Linked DNA regions of Homo sapiens: regions 1, 2, 3 and 5 are each linked to region 4. Evidence: promoter capture Hi-C in 16 types of primary human blood cells and fetal thymus (Javierre and others, 2016). All regions are on one chromosome and are shown on one strand. Each heading gives the region's core, a stretch centred on a gene start or on the middle of the fragment in contact. The rest is flanking DNA. Distances are from core to core; before and after follow the strand shown.

Evidence for each region. Contacts are between HindIII fragments. The CHiCAGO score rates a contact against its expected background, and 5 or more counts as called.
Region 1: a contact is called between a fragment that was not itself captured here and the fragment with the promoter of ADPGK-AS1 in region 4, in 2 of 17 cell types (fetal thymus and naive CD8 T cells). The highest score is 6.1, in fetal thymus.
Region 2: a contact is called between a fragment that was not itself captured here and the fragment with the promoter of ADPGK-AS1 in region 4, in 1 of 17 cell types (fetal thymus). The highest score is 5.1, in fetal thymus.
Region 3: a contact is called between a fragment that was not itself captured here and the fragment with the promoter of ADPGK-AS1 in region 4, in 2 of 17 cell types (fetal thymus and total B cells). The highest score is 7.9, in fetal thymus.
Region 5: a contact is called between a fragment that was not itself captured here and the fragment with the promoter of ADPGK-AS1 in region 4, in 1 of 17 cell types (M2 macrophages). The highest score is 5.1, in M2 macrophages.

The regions. Positions count from the first base shown.
Region 1 is chr15:72,219,671-72,222,370 of GRCh38, forward strand. The region is part of intron 1 of PKM (pyruvate kinase M1/2); the gene reads right to left. Among named protein-coding and RNA genes, the nearest start is that of PKM, 10 kb to the right of the region's middle. The HindIII fragment of the contact is 1,853 bases long and covers 491-2,343 here.
Region 2 is chr15:72,265,281-72,267,980 of GRCh38, forward strand. PARP6 (poly(ADP-ribose) polymerase family member 6) reads right to left here. Exons shown (of 24, transcript NM_001323532.2): 3 at 2,195-2,391; 4 at 1,465-1,542; 5 at 617-711; 6 at 133-193. The coding sequence starts at 2,197. Among named protein-coding and RNA genes, the nearest start is that of PARP6, 5.9 kb to the right of the region's middle. The HindIII fragment of the contact is 4,663 bases long and covers 1-2,700 here.
Region 3 is chr15:73,633,763-73,636,462 of GRCh38, forward strand. LOC105370891 (a long non-coding RNA gene) reads left to right here and starts at 2,655. Exons shown (of 3, transcript XR_932451.3): 1 at 2,655-2,700. The HindIII fragment of the contact is 438 bases long and covers 1,032-1,469 here.
Region 4 is chr15:72,781,482-72,784,181 of GRCh38, forward strand. It overlaps ADPGK-AS1 (ADPGK antisense RNA 1), which reads left to right and starts at 1,354. Exons shown (of 3, transcript NR_040107.1): 1 at 1,354-2,700. It overlaps ADPGK (ADP dependent glucokinase), which reads right to left and starts at 2,277. Exons shown (of 7, transcript NM_001365225.1): 1 at 1,978-2,277. The coding sequence starts at 2,210. RefSeq lists enhancers at 1,653-1,722, 2,483-2,542, 2,593-2,700 and a silencer at 1,973-2,432. The HindIII fragment of the contact is 5,666 bases long and covers 1-2,700 here.
Region 5 is chr15:73,686,729-73,689,428 of GRCh38, forward strand. The region is part of intron 1 of CD276 (CD276 molecule); the gene reads left to right. Among named protein-coding and RNA genes, the nearest start is that of CD276, 3.7 kb to the left of the region's middle. The HindIII fragment of the contact is 3,534 bases long and covers 1-2,700 here.

The sequences.
Region 1 (2,700 bases), core at 167-2,666, 560 kb before region 4:
TCCCAGGAGTCTAAACCTAAAACCACATCTACTGTTGGCCAGAAGGATGTCAGGACACGCAAAGCAATTTGCAATTTGCAAAGCAAGGATAACATAAGGGCACTGGTATAATTCTGAAATTATCACAACTACATTAACAGGATAGTTGCAAACATAGAGAAATTAAAGTTGCTGGTCAAATCTTTTCCCCAAATGATTTTTGATACACATCCTGATTTCTTTTCTAAGCCTGACAAGTATACCACCACTCTGTAACACAGACCATCAGTTCCAGGTAATTAACTAGCCCAGGTCACAACCCTGACAATGGCCCCAACCTTTGCTTTCTTCATTAATGACTTACAACTAAACTCACTCAGCCTGTTAGTTAGCTGATTAGAGACAAAAACTCAGGAGAAGCTTCCAGGCAGTGTTTGAATAACTATCAGGTAAGGATGTGAACCAGACCAGGCAGTGTTTGAAGAACTATCAGGTAAGGATGTGAACCAGAAGCTTGCTACACGTCTCATCAGAAAGCTGTTTCCTTGAGTTCTCAGACCAAGGGCTACTCTTTCTAAAACGCTTGAGCCTAAATGCTTCGGCCAAGCAAGGCTCAGGAACAAGCTCCTCTTTAGCCCTTCCCCACCTCATCCTAAATCTCAAAGTTCCAAATCAAGGCATCTCACACATATGACCCTTACTCCTTTACCCTGTTCCATCTCTGACTTTGTGGGCTCTCTGGGTGGCTCGAGTAGAGTATACATCTAAATCCATCTCTGCCATCTCCAAAGAAGGCCCGCTGAGGTCCAAGGAGCTCTGAAGGCAGTAGTGAACAGTCTGTTGGCTATGGAAAACTGATGGCCACAAGTCCTCAACCACAGATTCTAAAACTTTTAAAATGGGGAAATAAGATACCGGCTAACGGTTCAACATGGCAAATGCACTCTTCATTTCGATGTGTATTTCCTAAGCCCCTAATATCTACTACGTACCAAAATGAAAAAATCAATCCTCCCTTCCAGGACCTATATGGTTTTGTATCTCCTAGCACCTAGTATGTGGAAGCATTCCAGTGTTTGTTAAATGACCTTTCAGTCTCTCTGAATGCCTCTTTGTCAGAATCAAAGTTATGCCTCTGCTCCCCCTTCCCTAAATCTGAGGAACTTCTGCATTACTGACAGGAAAGCCTGGGGCCCCTGGTCCCTTTCCCTACACTCATGGTTGAGGGAGGGCTCGCATACCTTCAGAGCTCCCAGCTGGGCTTAGGGAAGTCTGGCTGTTAAGGGAACATTACTGAGAGATGGCACATCAGGCCAACTGGAACACAAAGGCTTTGCTGTGGCCTCCAATGGGCCTACAATCTAGGGACTGTATTGTGAACAAAATAAGATCTGAATAAGTGGGTTGGAGTAACTAATTCCACTCTTTTTAAAAACCATCAGCTGGCTCTTCTTAGACCTGAGATATGAGGGTCTTCCTGTAAAGACCTGGCTGGGGCCACTGAATATCAGGTCATACCTTTGGTTCTCTGGGGTTGGGCTTCCGGTGACATAATGCTCCCCTTTTGGCTCAGGGTGGCTCCTTGGCCTCACTAGCAAAGACCGCTCAGAGCTGAATACGGTGTGCCCTGGAGAGCTGCACAAGGATTAAGGAAAAAGCTGAGTGTAACTAAAGCTCTTTGGGGTAATGGAAAAATTACCTTAATAACCAGGTATCCAGGTGACAGCTGCTCTAGAGATTCCACTGTTATGTCTCTTTAAACCTGTGATTTACTAACATTCCACTATTCTATACAAGAACCTGGTCCCTCCCCTTTTGGGAGCGGGGAAGGGACACCAAATTAAACATACCTAAAAGACCTGGGAGGATATATACTGAAATTTTAATAGGACGTCATTGGGGTGGTAGGATTACAGAAAAAAAAAAATCCTCTTTATTAACAAATTTACTGATATAAATATAAAAATACTTTTATAGTAAGAAATTATGTGTACCTCTTTTGGAAATATTTATATGCATCCTATAAAATTGTTGGGAGGAAGTAAATGAAATGTGAAGACACCAATTCCATTAATCAATTGCTGCTCTATGCACTTCAAGAATAATCTGCTTTTAAAAGGTGGCAGAGAAAAGACGCATGTCTCAAGTTCTGTACACTGGGTTGTGATTAAAAAAAAAAAACGATACAAGTCTTAGGCCCTACATCACAAATGTACTGCAGAACAGTTTCAACGGCTTAAGAAGGTCAACCTTAATACATTCAGAACCTCAAAGCAAAAAAAAAAAAAAAAAAGTCCACAGGATAATCCCATGCCTCAAACCTGTTAGTTACATGCCCAAATCCAGCAAACTAGTTTGTTCTCAAGCTTTACAGTAAAAGCTTTTGACAATGTTCTGGTACAGAAGGGCTGCCTCCAAGTCCACGAGATGCCATTAGCAGATAAAATTATATTGGCCTCAAACACAAACCCTATTTCAACTATCTCAAATTAAATCTGATGCCTATAAGCTCTAATTTTTTGCCAATAAGTACAAAAATGACAAATGAAAATTTCTATAGTGGATTTACGCATTAGCAGTCAAAAAAAGCTTGCTTGTCAGCAAGTTCATCCAGACTCCAGATCTCATGTGTCCTTCATGCTCTCTACCCAGCCAGAGACCTCATATCTCATGCCCAGGTCTTTCCTCAGGCTCTGACCTGAAGCCTCCCTTGCAGGGAGG
Region 2 (2,700 bases), core at 188-2,687, 520 kb before region 4:
GATGGTCTAGGAAAGACAGAGATGAAGAATATGTGCTCCAAATACAGCACTCGGGAACAAGACTCCTGGCCTACATGACAAATTCCACAAGTCCAGCTAGACATGTTGTTGGCAGGTACTAGCCCCACTTACATCGAGGAAGCTGATGTTGATGTGGAGGTCAATGTCCACGTCATCGATAGTTCCATATTCTCTATAGAGATACAGGTGACAACAGGTGAGACTCATTAAGGGAGAAAGAAGGGAATAGAAACTGAGTTGGAAAGAGAACTGAGCCTGGGGACAGGGGAAAGGGAAGAGTGGATGACAGTTTTGTACCTAGGGTCTTAGCTATAGCCTTACACCACTTACCTGATCAGGATCTACTTCCAGGCCAAAAGCATTTCTTACCTGAAAGGTGAAACTACTGGCCCAGAGGGGTCTAGGATAAGAGGGAATTCCTAAGAAAAGTGGCCTTACTCTCTACTCTCAGCCAAGCTCATTTATTCTGAGCATTTTCTATCATTAAGTTCATAATTTATCCCACTATCATACCATAAAAAGAAAAACCTCTAGCCTTTTAACAACTCAGAAAGAAGTGACTTGCTCCCCTGCCACCCCTGAAGTAGAGTCCCACCTGATGGATACAGAGTTCTCACTGTAGATCTCCTTCACGGCTTCAATGTCTGCATCAAGCTGTGGGTGTCGATACAGGTCAGCTGCACAGCTCCCCTGAGATAGCAGCAAAAATGGTGGTGGAGAGAGGTGGAAAAAGACGAGGGAAAGAGAGAGATAATAAAAAGAATATGAAAAGACACCAGGAACAGGAGAAATCAGACAGCAGTATAGGGGAAGTAAAAGCCACTTATGTGAAGGGGTTCTCAGTGGTGACCCTAGCAAGGGATTTCATTAACAGAGGTCTCCATCTCATCATGACTTTAAAAAGGTTCAGCAGACCAAATGTAGGCTTTTGCTTGGAGTTCACTTCCTTAAATCTCCAGCTTTTCTCTCAGACCTTGACCAGGATACCTTCTATGACAACTCAGAACAGGCTGAAGAGTTACAGGTTTCCTAAGATTGGTTCTAAGTGAAGAGCATTCTGAGAGTCTGGGTACTTCTGCTCAGGACTGTGCCCTGGGTAGTGATGGCATTAAGCAAACGCTGGCAGAGTAATCTTTTAAGATGTGACCCTAATGAATGAAACTACCCCCACTGGCTAGTGTTATAAAAGTCAGAAAATAATTATGTCTAATTAAGATATGGGTAGTCTCCACATACAGAGGATGTAGTTTACTCTGGAACAGGTATGACTCCAAAGAAAGAGCAAGGGCACGGGATCAGCTCTGACAAGACCATGCTCAGACCACATCAACATTATAACCTCATCTCATCTGTGCTCCAGAACCTCTTTCACTCCTGATGTATCCAAAAAGCAGCACATATCTAGACCATCCAACACGGGGGTCTTGGGAGATGTAACCTCACCTGAACGCCATAGAGAAATTCCTCTGATTCATTATCTCCCTCCGAGTCGTCATCATTCCAGAACTGGCCTTTGATGTCCTAGTGGTGAGAAATAAGGATATCATGCTTTGTTAGGTCCCTATTATCCCATGGAAAGGCGTGGGATGATATGGTGAGGAACAGATTCCCACAAAGATTGGGAAATATAGAATAACTGAAGCCCTGATCCCTTTACACCTTTCATGTCACCCTTTGTGAGAGTCTCAGTCTCTTCCTGATATGATCATATCCATAAACTAGCTCTTAGTGGGACAGAGGAAAACATCTAGGGAATTTTGGCCTTCTGAAGTCTCAGTATGATGACTGAGAGGCTCTGGTAGCCAGTAGGAAAGAAATGCAAATGACTTCAATGTCAAGGTTGACTCCTAAGCATATCTGGGTTCCAGTACAAGCTGGCCTCTTCCAGGATCATTACCTAAGACAGTTCCCAAGCACACCTAAACTCTCTTGTCTCATTATTTTCTTTCTATCCTTTAAAGTACTTAACTCTCCTCTCCCTCCCCAAGAAAACCCACTACACAAACACACCAAGTAATACTGTTTCTGTGCCCCTTCCCTTTCCTTTAACTTCAAATAGCCACTCTATCTTCCAAAAGGGTAGAAGGGAAAATACCAAGAAAGGGTGAGATCTGCACTTTGTCTCCTCTACCCTTTGAACAATCAGTTGGAGAGGTGGGCAGTCAGTTCTCACCATTGGGTCAGTGGGTCACACACACTCTCAGGTCAGTGCTAGGCAGCACCCCTCCATACCACTAGCCGAACCAAGGCCAACGAGATGGGCATTTAGGAGACCACAAAGGGAGACAAGGTAGGGCACGATGTCAGGGACAACTGGTGATCTGTTGGGGATGGCAGGCTCTGCTGTTGCGGTGGTAACAAGTCACTGTCCTGTGGAAAGTAGATAATAATGGGTTTCATCACCACTTAATAGCTGGGTGGTGTATATATACAGGCACACGTATTTATCAATACACTTTTTTTTTTTGAGACAGAGTTTCGCTCTTGTCGCCCAGGCTGGAGTGCAATGGCGCGATCTTGGCTCACTGCAACCTCCGCCTCCTGGGTTCAAGTAATTCTCATGCCTCAGCCTCCCAAGTAGCTGGAATTACAGGTGCCTGCTGCCACGCCCAGCTAATTTTAATATTTTCAGTAGAGATGGGGTTTCACCACATTGGCCAGGCTGGTCTCGAACTCCCG
Region 3 (2,700 bases), core at 1-2,500, 850 kb after region 4:
CCTCTCTTTGTCCCCGTCCTGCTGTTTCTTCCTTCTGGACTTTGAACATAGACCTCTACTGGTAACTGGCTCCAACCTCCTTCTCTCATCTGCTGTTTTTTCCTTCCAGGAAAAGTGGTGCGCCCCCTGTGCCCCCGTTACCTTGTGCTTTCCTGCCTGGACATCTGCTCCCTTTGCCTGAAATGTCCTCCTTTGCCGCCTCTGCCTACTCCCCCTCCCACCCCACATCTGGGCCTTATTTTAGCTTCATAGACTCTCAGGGCCTGAAGTTCAGCTAGCCTAATTGCATGTTCATTGACACAATTCTACAAGGAAGTCGTGTATGAACTTACATGAAGACTCCTAAGAAGCGTCTTAATGCGGAAAACATTTATTGAGAACGTGCTGTGTGCCAGGCACATAGTGAAACCCACATGAAAAGGTAGTCCCCGTCCTCATGGAGTGCACTGCCTAGGCTAGCAGAGGAGTGAGGAAGGGTCAAATGGCCCCATAGGAAAGGATCTAGCAAAGCACTCTGGAGGGTGATTGGCAGTGTGGTTACTACTGTTTGCATAGAAGTTTGGGAAATGCTCTTTTTAGGGGTATTTTTTGTACTACCCTCAGGGCTTGTGGTTGGCAAAGGAATTTCTATGGCTTAGCTCATCCCTGACTCACAGCAGACGTCCTGGGAGTGTCTGTGGAAACTCTGAGGGGCCAAGTAAACAGTCCTGGTGGCCTGACTTGATTTAAAGAGAGGGTTTGGAGGACCTGGAAGAAGGAGACCCTCGCAATCTCTATCAAGCTAAAGTGGTCTGGAACTTTCAACAGGAACTGAACAGCTGGTGGTTCCAGACCAAAATTTCTAGCAAAGGCCAGGACCACTATGGCATGTTGTTGATTGAAGTGAAAACTATGTCCTTCAAAACCTCAGGTGTGTGAGTGACAAAAAGATTGGCATGTACCTTCATCTGGACAAAGGCCATTCTGCAGACAGCCCAGTAAGGAGGGCTACAGGGCTGCCTGTGGTGGGATCAAGATTTTCAGCTGATGGAAGCTTTGGTTGGATGCAACCATTCTGCCTCATTATAGCTGTAACAAATGTGGCTCTTTGATCCTTACAACAAGAGATTCTTACAAAATGATCATGGTCTTTTTGTGGATAGGGAAGCTGAAGCCAAAGGAGGACACGAACGGCTCCAGCTCTCAGAATGTTTGTATTAATCATTAATGCCAACAATCTGGTTTGCTTGTTAATAGACTCATGGTAGAAGTGCATTTTCTTGTCCCCTTGAAGTCGGGAGTGGCATTGGATGTGCTTGGGTCAGTGAAATGTGTAAAGTAACATGCATTGCTTCAAGCAGAAGCATTTCATTTCCAGTTTAGACTCTTTCCCATACTCTTTCGTCTTGGTAGTGATTACTGATCATGACGATGAAAGCATATATCAAAACGAACCTTGTGTCAGCATTAGTCCCTGAGTTAGCATAATAAGCTTAACCCCCCTGCTAACCCATACAGAACAGGTACCCTCTGTTGAATTAAACTGTGAGATTCAAGGGGTATTTGTTCCTGTGACATAACATAGACTGTTCCGGCTAATGGAAAGATGAAATTCAAGTCCACAACACCAACATTACCATCCAGGAGCTCTGTCATCTTAGGCAAATGACCTAATCTCTCTGGACCTTATTTTCTGTCAAATGGTGCTAATGATAGCACCTACCTTCCAAGATTATAGAAGGAATAAATGAGTAAATTTATGTGCAATGTTTAGAACAGTTTCTGGTGCATAGTAAACACTCATGTTGATGTTGATGCTGCTACTACAATTCTGACTCCAGCTTTGTATTCTTCTTCTTATCTCATGCTTGCAAAAAGTGATCTGGGAAGAACATTTTTAAGTATGGGTGTTACCAGTCAACTCTCAAAACCTGCAGTTATGAAAAAACCCTTTTACCCAGGGAGAAATGTCACCAAATTCCACATGATAGTAGCTGTACTTTGTCACTTTTCATCGAGAAAATACATAATAACTAAGACCTTTTAATAATTCTGTAATTTTTTTTTTGAGATGGAGTCTTGCTCTGTTGCCCAGGCTGGAGTGAAGTGGCGGGATCTCGGCTTACTGCAACCTCCGTCTCCCGGGGTCAAGAGATTCTTGTGCCTCGGCCTCCAAAGTAGCTGGGATTACAGGCATCCGCCAGCATGCCCAGCTAATTTTTGTATTTTTAGTAGAGACAAGAGTTTTGCCATGTTGGCCAGGCTGGTCTCAAACTCCTGACCTCAGGTGATCTGCCTGCCTCAGCCTCCCAAAGTGCTGGGATTACAGGCGTGAGTGAGCCACCATGCCTGGTCTAAGTCAGTAACTTCCTTTTTTTTTTTTTTTTTTTTTTTTTTTGAGACGGAGTCTCGCTCTGTCTCCCAGGCTGGAGTGCAGTGGCGCGATCTCGGCTCACTGCAAGCTCTGCCTCTCGGGTTCATGCCATTCTCCTACTTCACCCTCCCGAGTAGCTGAGACTACGGGCTCTTGCCACCACGCCCGGCTAATTTTTTATGTTTTTAGTAAAGACGGGGTTTCACTGTGTTAGCCAGGATGGTCTCGATTTCCTGACCTTGTGATCCACCTGCCTCGGCCTCCCAAAGTGCTGGGATTACAGGCGTGAGCCACCGCGCCCGGCCTAAGTCAGTAACTTCTTTAAAAGAATTTAGGAATTTGTATTT
Region 4 (2,700 bases), core at 104-2,603:
CTCATTTATTTAGTGTCTGTCCTATGAAAGTCACTGTAGTAAAATATATTTTCCAAGATGGTGGCAATAAGATGCCCCATTCCAAATGTTCTTTTCACAATGTGACACTGATGCTCCTCCCATCAAGGTTTGTTCTATGTCCCCTCCCTTAAAACCAGGTGGACCTGTGACTCTGGTAGAAGAGTTCCTATGTGCTTCTAAGGTAAGGTCGTAAAAGGCATTAAGGCTTCTGCCTGGTCCTCGTGGGTTGTTCCTCTTCTAACCATAATTGTTATGGATTGAATTGTCCACCCCCCACCAATTCATATGCTGAAACCCTAATTCCCAATGTGACTATATTTGGACGTAGGGCCTTTAAGGAAGTAGTTAAGGTTAAATAAGGTCATACGGGTGAGCCCTATTCCAAAAGGACCTAGTGTCCACATAAGAAGAATAAGAGGCACCAGGAGTGTACATGCGCAGACTAACTGAAAAGCCAGCTGGCTGCAAGCTAGGAAGAGAGGCCACATCGGAAGCCAATCCTGCCAACACCTTGATCTTGGACTATCAGCCTCCAGATCCACGAGAAAACAGATTTGTTGTTTAATCCACCTAATTTGTGGTATTCTGTTCTAGCAGCCCAAATGACTGATACAATAATATGTTTCCAACAAGTGAGACAGGGGCCTTGCTTCACCCATCTCTGTATCTTAAGAACCTAGCACAGACCTGACACTAACCATGTAGTTGGTGAATATCTGCTGAATGAACGCGCATAAAGCAAGGAAGGACAATTTAATCCCAGCACTTTGGGAGGCCAAGATGGGAGGCTGGCTTGAGCTCAGGAGTTCGAGACCAGCCTGGGCAATATAGCAAGACCTCGACTCTACTAAAAAAAATAAAATAAATAAAAAATTGGCTGGGCGTGGTGGTGCTTGCCTGTCGTCCCAGCTACTCCAGAGGCTGAGGCAGAAGGATCTCTTGAGCTCGGGAGTTCGAGGCTGCAGTGAGCAGTGATTGCACCACTGCACTCCAGCCTAGGCGACAGAGAGAGAGACCCTGTGTCCAAAAAAAAAAAAAAAAAAAAACCCCAAAATTATAGCTAATATCGAATGCTTTTTAAAGCAGGCACTATGCTAGAGAGATTACATGAATGATGTCATTTAATCTTCAGGCCAAGTTTGCTCTACTTTACCCCTCCCGGCCCCAACACTCCACAGAAAGTAGTGAGCTACATGGTAGAGGGCCTGCTTTTATGTGGTGGTTATACATAACTCTGAGATTACGGCAAGAAAGTCAAATCGAACTGAGACAGGGACTAAAGTTAGTGTTTACAGTATCAATACTATAAAGAAAATAATTACATTCCCAAGGAAAAGTACAAAGAAAGGAGGTAGTGTCATTTGGAAGAACCTTAAATATGCAGTGTCACTGAAGTCAGGGGAAGAAAAGAATTTCACGGAGAAGGGCGTGTTCAATGCGTGGAAGGCTGCAGAGTAGATAATGAAGATTCAAAAAGGCAAATCTGAGAGGAGTTGCAGTACAGTCGTGTGGTTTCTAGACTACACGGCGTTTCGAAAGTGGGTAAAGGCAGACATCACGCGTCTTCAAGAAGTTCAGAAGAAAGAGGAAGAGTGTTGTCATAGTGGGTAAGGTCAAGTATCTTTGATTGCAAAACAACAGTCGCCAGAAGAGAAGGGGCTAAAAGTTGGAACGAGGAAGAAGGCTCGGAGAAAGGTGTCAGACAAAGCGGGATTAGCAAGAAGCTGTTAGGGCTGGTCCTACCGGGATGAGAGAAAGGCGCAGAGGCCAGCCGAGTGGAAAGAGCAGCGGTGACGAACCGGGTTCCACTCAGACGTCCGACACTTCTCGCCAAGGGGCCAGCGCGGACAGCAGCGCCTCCCGGGGACCTCTGAGAAGCCCTGTTTCTGCGCGGCTCCGCCCGACCTCCAAGGCCGACCTCGGAGGCTCAGAGACCCAGGCCCCGTTGGCACTCACCCCACTGCCACGCGGCGCCAGCGCCGGACTGGCCGCACGATAAGCGCGTCCCAGGCTGCCGCCAACCGGCCCTCGGGGGAGACGGGTCCCGGGGGCGCAGGCGCGGGCCCCAGACACAGCGAGCTCCAGAGAGAGCGCAGCGCCGAGCCTGGCAGCTCTGGCTCCAGCAGGAAGACGCAGCCCACGGCCAGCGCCAGGAAGCCCGCGTACGCGGAGCCGCGCCACAGCGCCATGGGGACCCAGGCGCCGCACCTGCGCGAACCAACTCCTTTCCTAGCCCGCGCCTCTTCCGGGCTCGGCGCGCGCCGATGTCGACACAAGCGCTACGTCACAAGGGTGCGCCACGGGGCCCCCCAAGGGGCGGGGCGACGGGCGGCGCCAGGACGGAGCGAGGGGGGACCCCACGCCTCAGTCCCAGGCCTGGCACTGCGGTGTTGCCGCCCCGGAGGAGGTGGGACAACGGCGGTTGTGCCAGTCCGGGCGCTGCACCCCCTTCCCGGAACTCTAATCGTATCCCCAAATAGAGGGATGGGAACACATTTGCTTTCGCAGTAAAACGAAACGGACAGATTGTGAAGAAGCGGACAAACCTCGCGTTAATATTCGAACCAGTGGGTGTCCCCATTGGCACGGATCACACCCCCATCTTTTAATCCCTCCCTCCGCCCGTGTCCCCTCATTTGCTAGACTTGTCCTCTTCCAGGCCTAGTGCTCGGCGCTTCT
Region 5 (2,700 bases), core at 40-2,539, 910 kb after region 4:
CTAGAAAATGTTGTAGAACAAGTGGCTGGATGGTACTTGGTTGCACATACGGGGTTTGGGGTCTGTGCAGAAAAATGACCAAATCCAAGCAGCCTCTGAGATTATGACCACATGGGGGCTGTTAAGCTGTGGATCTGAGTCATAGGGTCAGGGAAAGAGGAAAAATGGCAAGGAGGATGACGTTACTGCCCATGAGCTTATCCTCTGAGTGGGTGGCGACTTCTCATTGTCCTTTTCCCACATCCCCAGGGCAGGAGTGTTAGGGAAGTCCACCAGCAAAAGGGGGAGGGCACACCCAGGGCCTAGGGGAGGGGGAGAGGGGTGAGGACTGGTCCACATGATTTTTGAGAAATTGCCTTTGGTCTTGTTGGCTCAGAATGGACCCCACACCTGGAAGGGGGCCACGTGTACAGTTATGCAACCCTTGCCTGCCACCCCCAGTTCTACCGCCCTTGCAGTGTGCCAGATAGGAGCATTGGGTTTTCAGGTTTGGGAGTGGGTAGGGTTGTGCTGGAGGCTAAATAGACATTATCTCATGTAATCCTCATAGTAATCCTATGAGGTAGGGTATCATTAACACCATTGTACAGTTGGGGAAACTGAGGCCCAGAAAGGGTAAGTCACATGCCCAAAGACACACAGCCGGCAAATGGTGGAGCTGGGCTGTTGTCTGCTTCCAGAACTGGCTTTTTCTGCTGCTCTGGAGGTAGGCACAGGTTTTACCCCTCTTTCTGGAGCCCGGTAAGATGTGCCAAGGGTCTCCTTAGTAAGTCAGGGAAGACTCATCTGGGGAACCAGAGAAGGGGCAGGCCTGACCTGGGTGACCCAGTGACTAGTGGCCTTCACAGCATAGTCAGGGCCTTTGCTGAGAGTTCTTCTCTTCCAGAGCCCTGGACTTTATCATGCTGGGGCTTCCAGGAGTTCCCCCTCCACCCTCCAGTTCTGACCAGTGCTCCCAGCCAGCTGCCCCCTTTCTCCCTTTCTTTCTCTTTGTGGTCCAGAGAATGAATGCCTGCTCCACACACCTTATGCCATTGGGAATCTGACCTTCTCTAGGCATAGGGAGCTTAATCTGCGGGAAGTGGAGTGAGAAGCATTTCTTGCTGGGAGCCTTGGAGCAGGGAGAGATACTGTCTCTGGGAGGCAGGGGTCCCAAGTTACCCTAGAGGCAATGCAGGCTCCTAGGAACTGGGGCTGCCTTGTGGGAGACATTGGAATGTGTCCCTGTGGGAATGCTCTGTGCTAGGGGCTATGGCAGCAGGACGGTAGGAGCTCATGGTACTTGGAACTGTGACCAAGCATCTGCGAAGAGGAAGGGGCCCAGGACCACTAGAATGAGTCAGAGCCAGAGATGGAGTCGAGTTGTGCATTTGCTACTTTGGAGCTGGGGCACTGATAGGGCTCTAGGTGAAAAGTAGGGATACAGAAGGAGTAATGGTCCCAGAGGCCCAGATGTGTGGCCTGACAGAGGAGGTCTTGGCCAGGGAGAGTGGGGTAGGGGCAAAGTGTTCGCTCAGTGCAGAGGCCCCATCTAGGAGGCCTTGTCCCCATGCTTGCGGCAATAATAACAGCAATAATAATAATTATTACTGCAGTTTTGGTACTGGGCACTTTCCTAAGTCCTCTCTCTCTATTGTCTTATTTTATTCTCACAGCAGCCCTGTGGGGTAGGGATTGTTACCCCCATTTTAGAGATTTGGAATTGGGTCTCAAATAGGTTAAGTCATTTAAACTTGGTCATGTGTTCAGCAAGGCATCGGTGTCAGGATTGAAACCCAAGGCTGCTGGCTTCTGAGCTCATGCTGTACCCTGGGCAGGCAAGGCAGCCTGGTGATTCCATTCAATAAGTGAGGAAGAGAGATAGGAGCATCAGCTGGCTCTTAGTCACTTCTGCTGGTGGCTGATAATTGAGTGTGGGCCCTTGGCCAGCCGGCCACCACTCTGGGTCCAGATTTCCATCTGTACAATGGGCCTGGAGCTAGGCGCTGGACCAGGTGTACCGTAAGAGGCCTTCTAGCTCTGAGGACTGGTGGAGATTGCTACACTCCGAGAGGGGTCTGGTGCTTAGATGGAGAGGGGTCGGCAGAGTTGTTCTGCTAAGCTGAGCCTCTTTCAGGGTAGAAACCAAAGGAATTTGGAGGCAAGGAGGCATTTAGGCAGATCACATCTGGAGAAAATGCACCCTTCCTTGAGTGCAGTCTGGAAAGGCTTCTGGAAAGGATAGGATTTCCAGATATGTTTAGGTGGGCACCTAGCAGGACTCAGCAGATATTGAGTGAATGCAGATGTGTGTGCCCTGGGCCTGCCAGTGTCTGACCCGAAATCTGCGCTCTGATGTGGTCTCATGTGCTCTCATCCCTTTCCTTCCTCTCCCTATTCTCCTTGTTGCCATCCCTTCTTTTGGCTGGACCTCCTCTGGGCCCAATGTAGCTTTCACTTTTTTCAGGGCTCTGTGCCTCCTGTGTGTGTGTGTGTGTGTGTGTGTGTGTGTGTGTGTGTGTACACATTTCCACATGCATGTATAGGTCAGTTTTGCAGCCCCTGCACATGCCTCTAGTTCCAGGGAGACCTTAGCCCTGCTTTGCTGGCCAGCCCTGATGACATACTACTGTCCTGACTCACACAGAAATCGCTTGGAGAGGAAGAACTGATTCCTGCTCTTGGGTGGGATCACGGGACTGGGGAGTGGTGCCCAGTGGA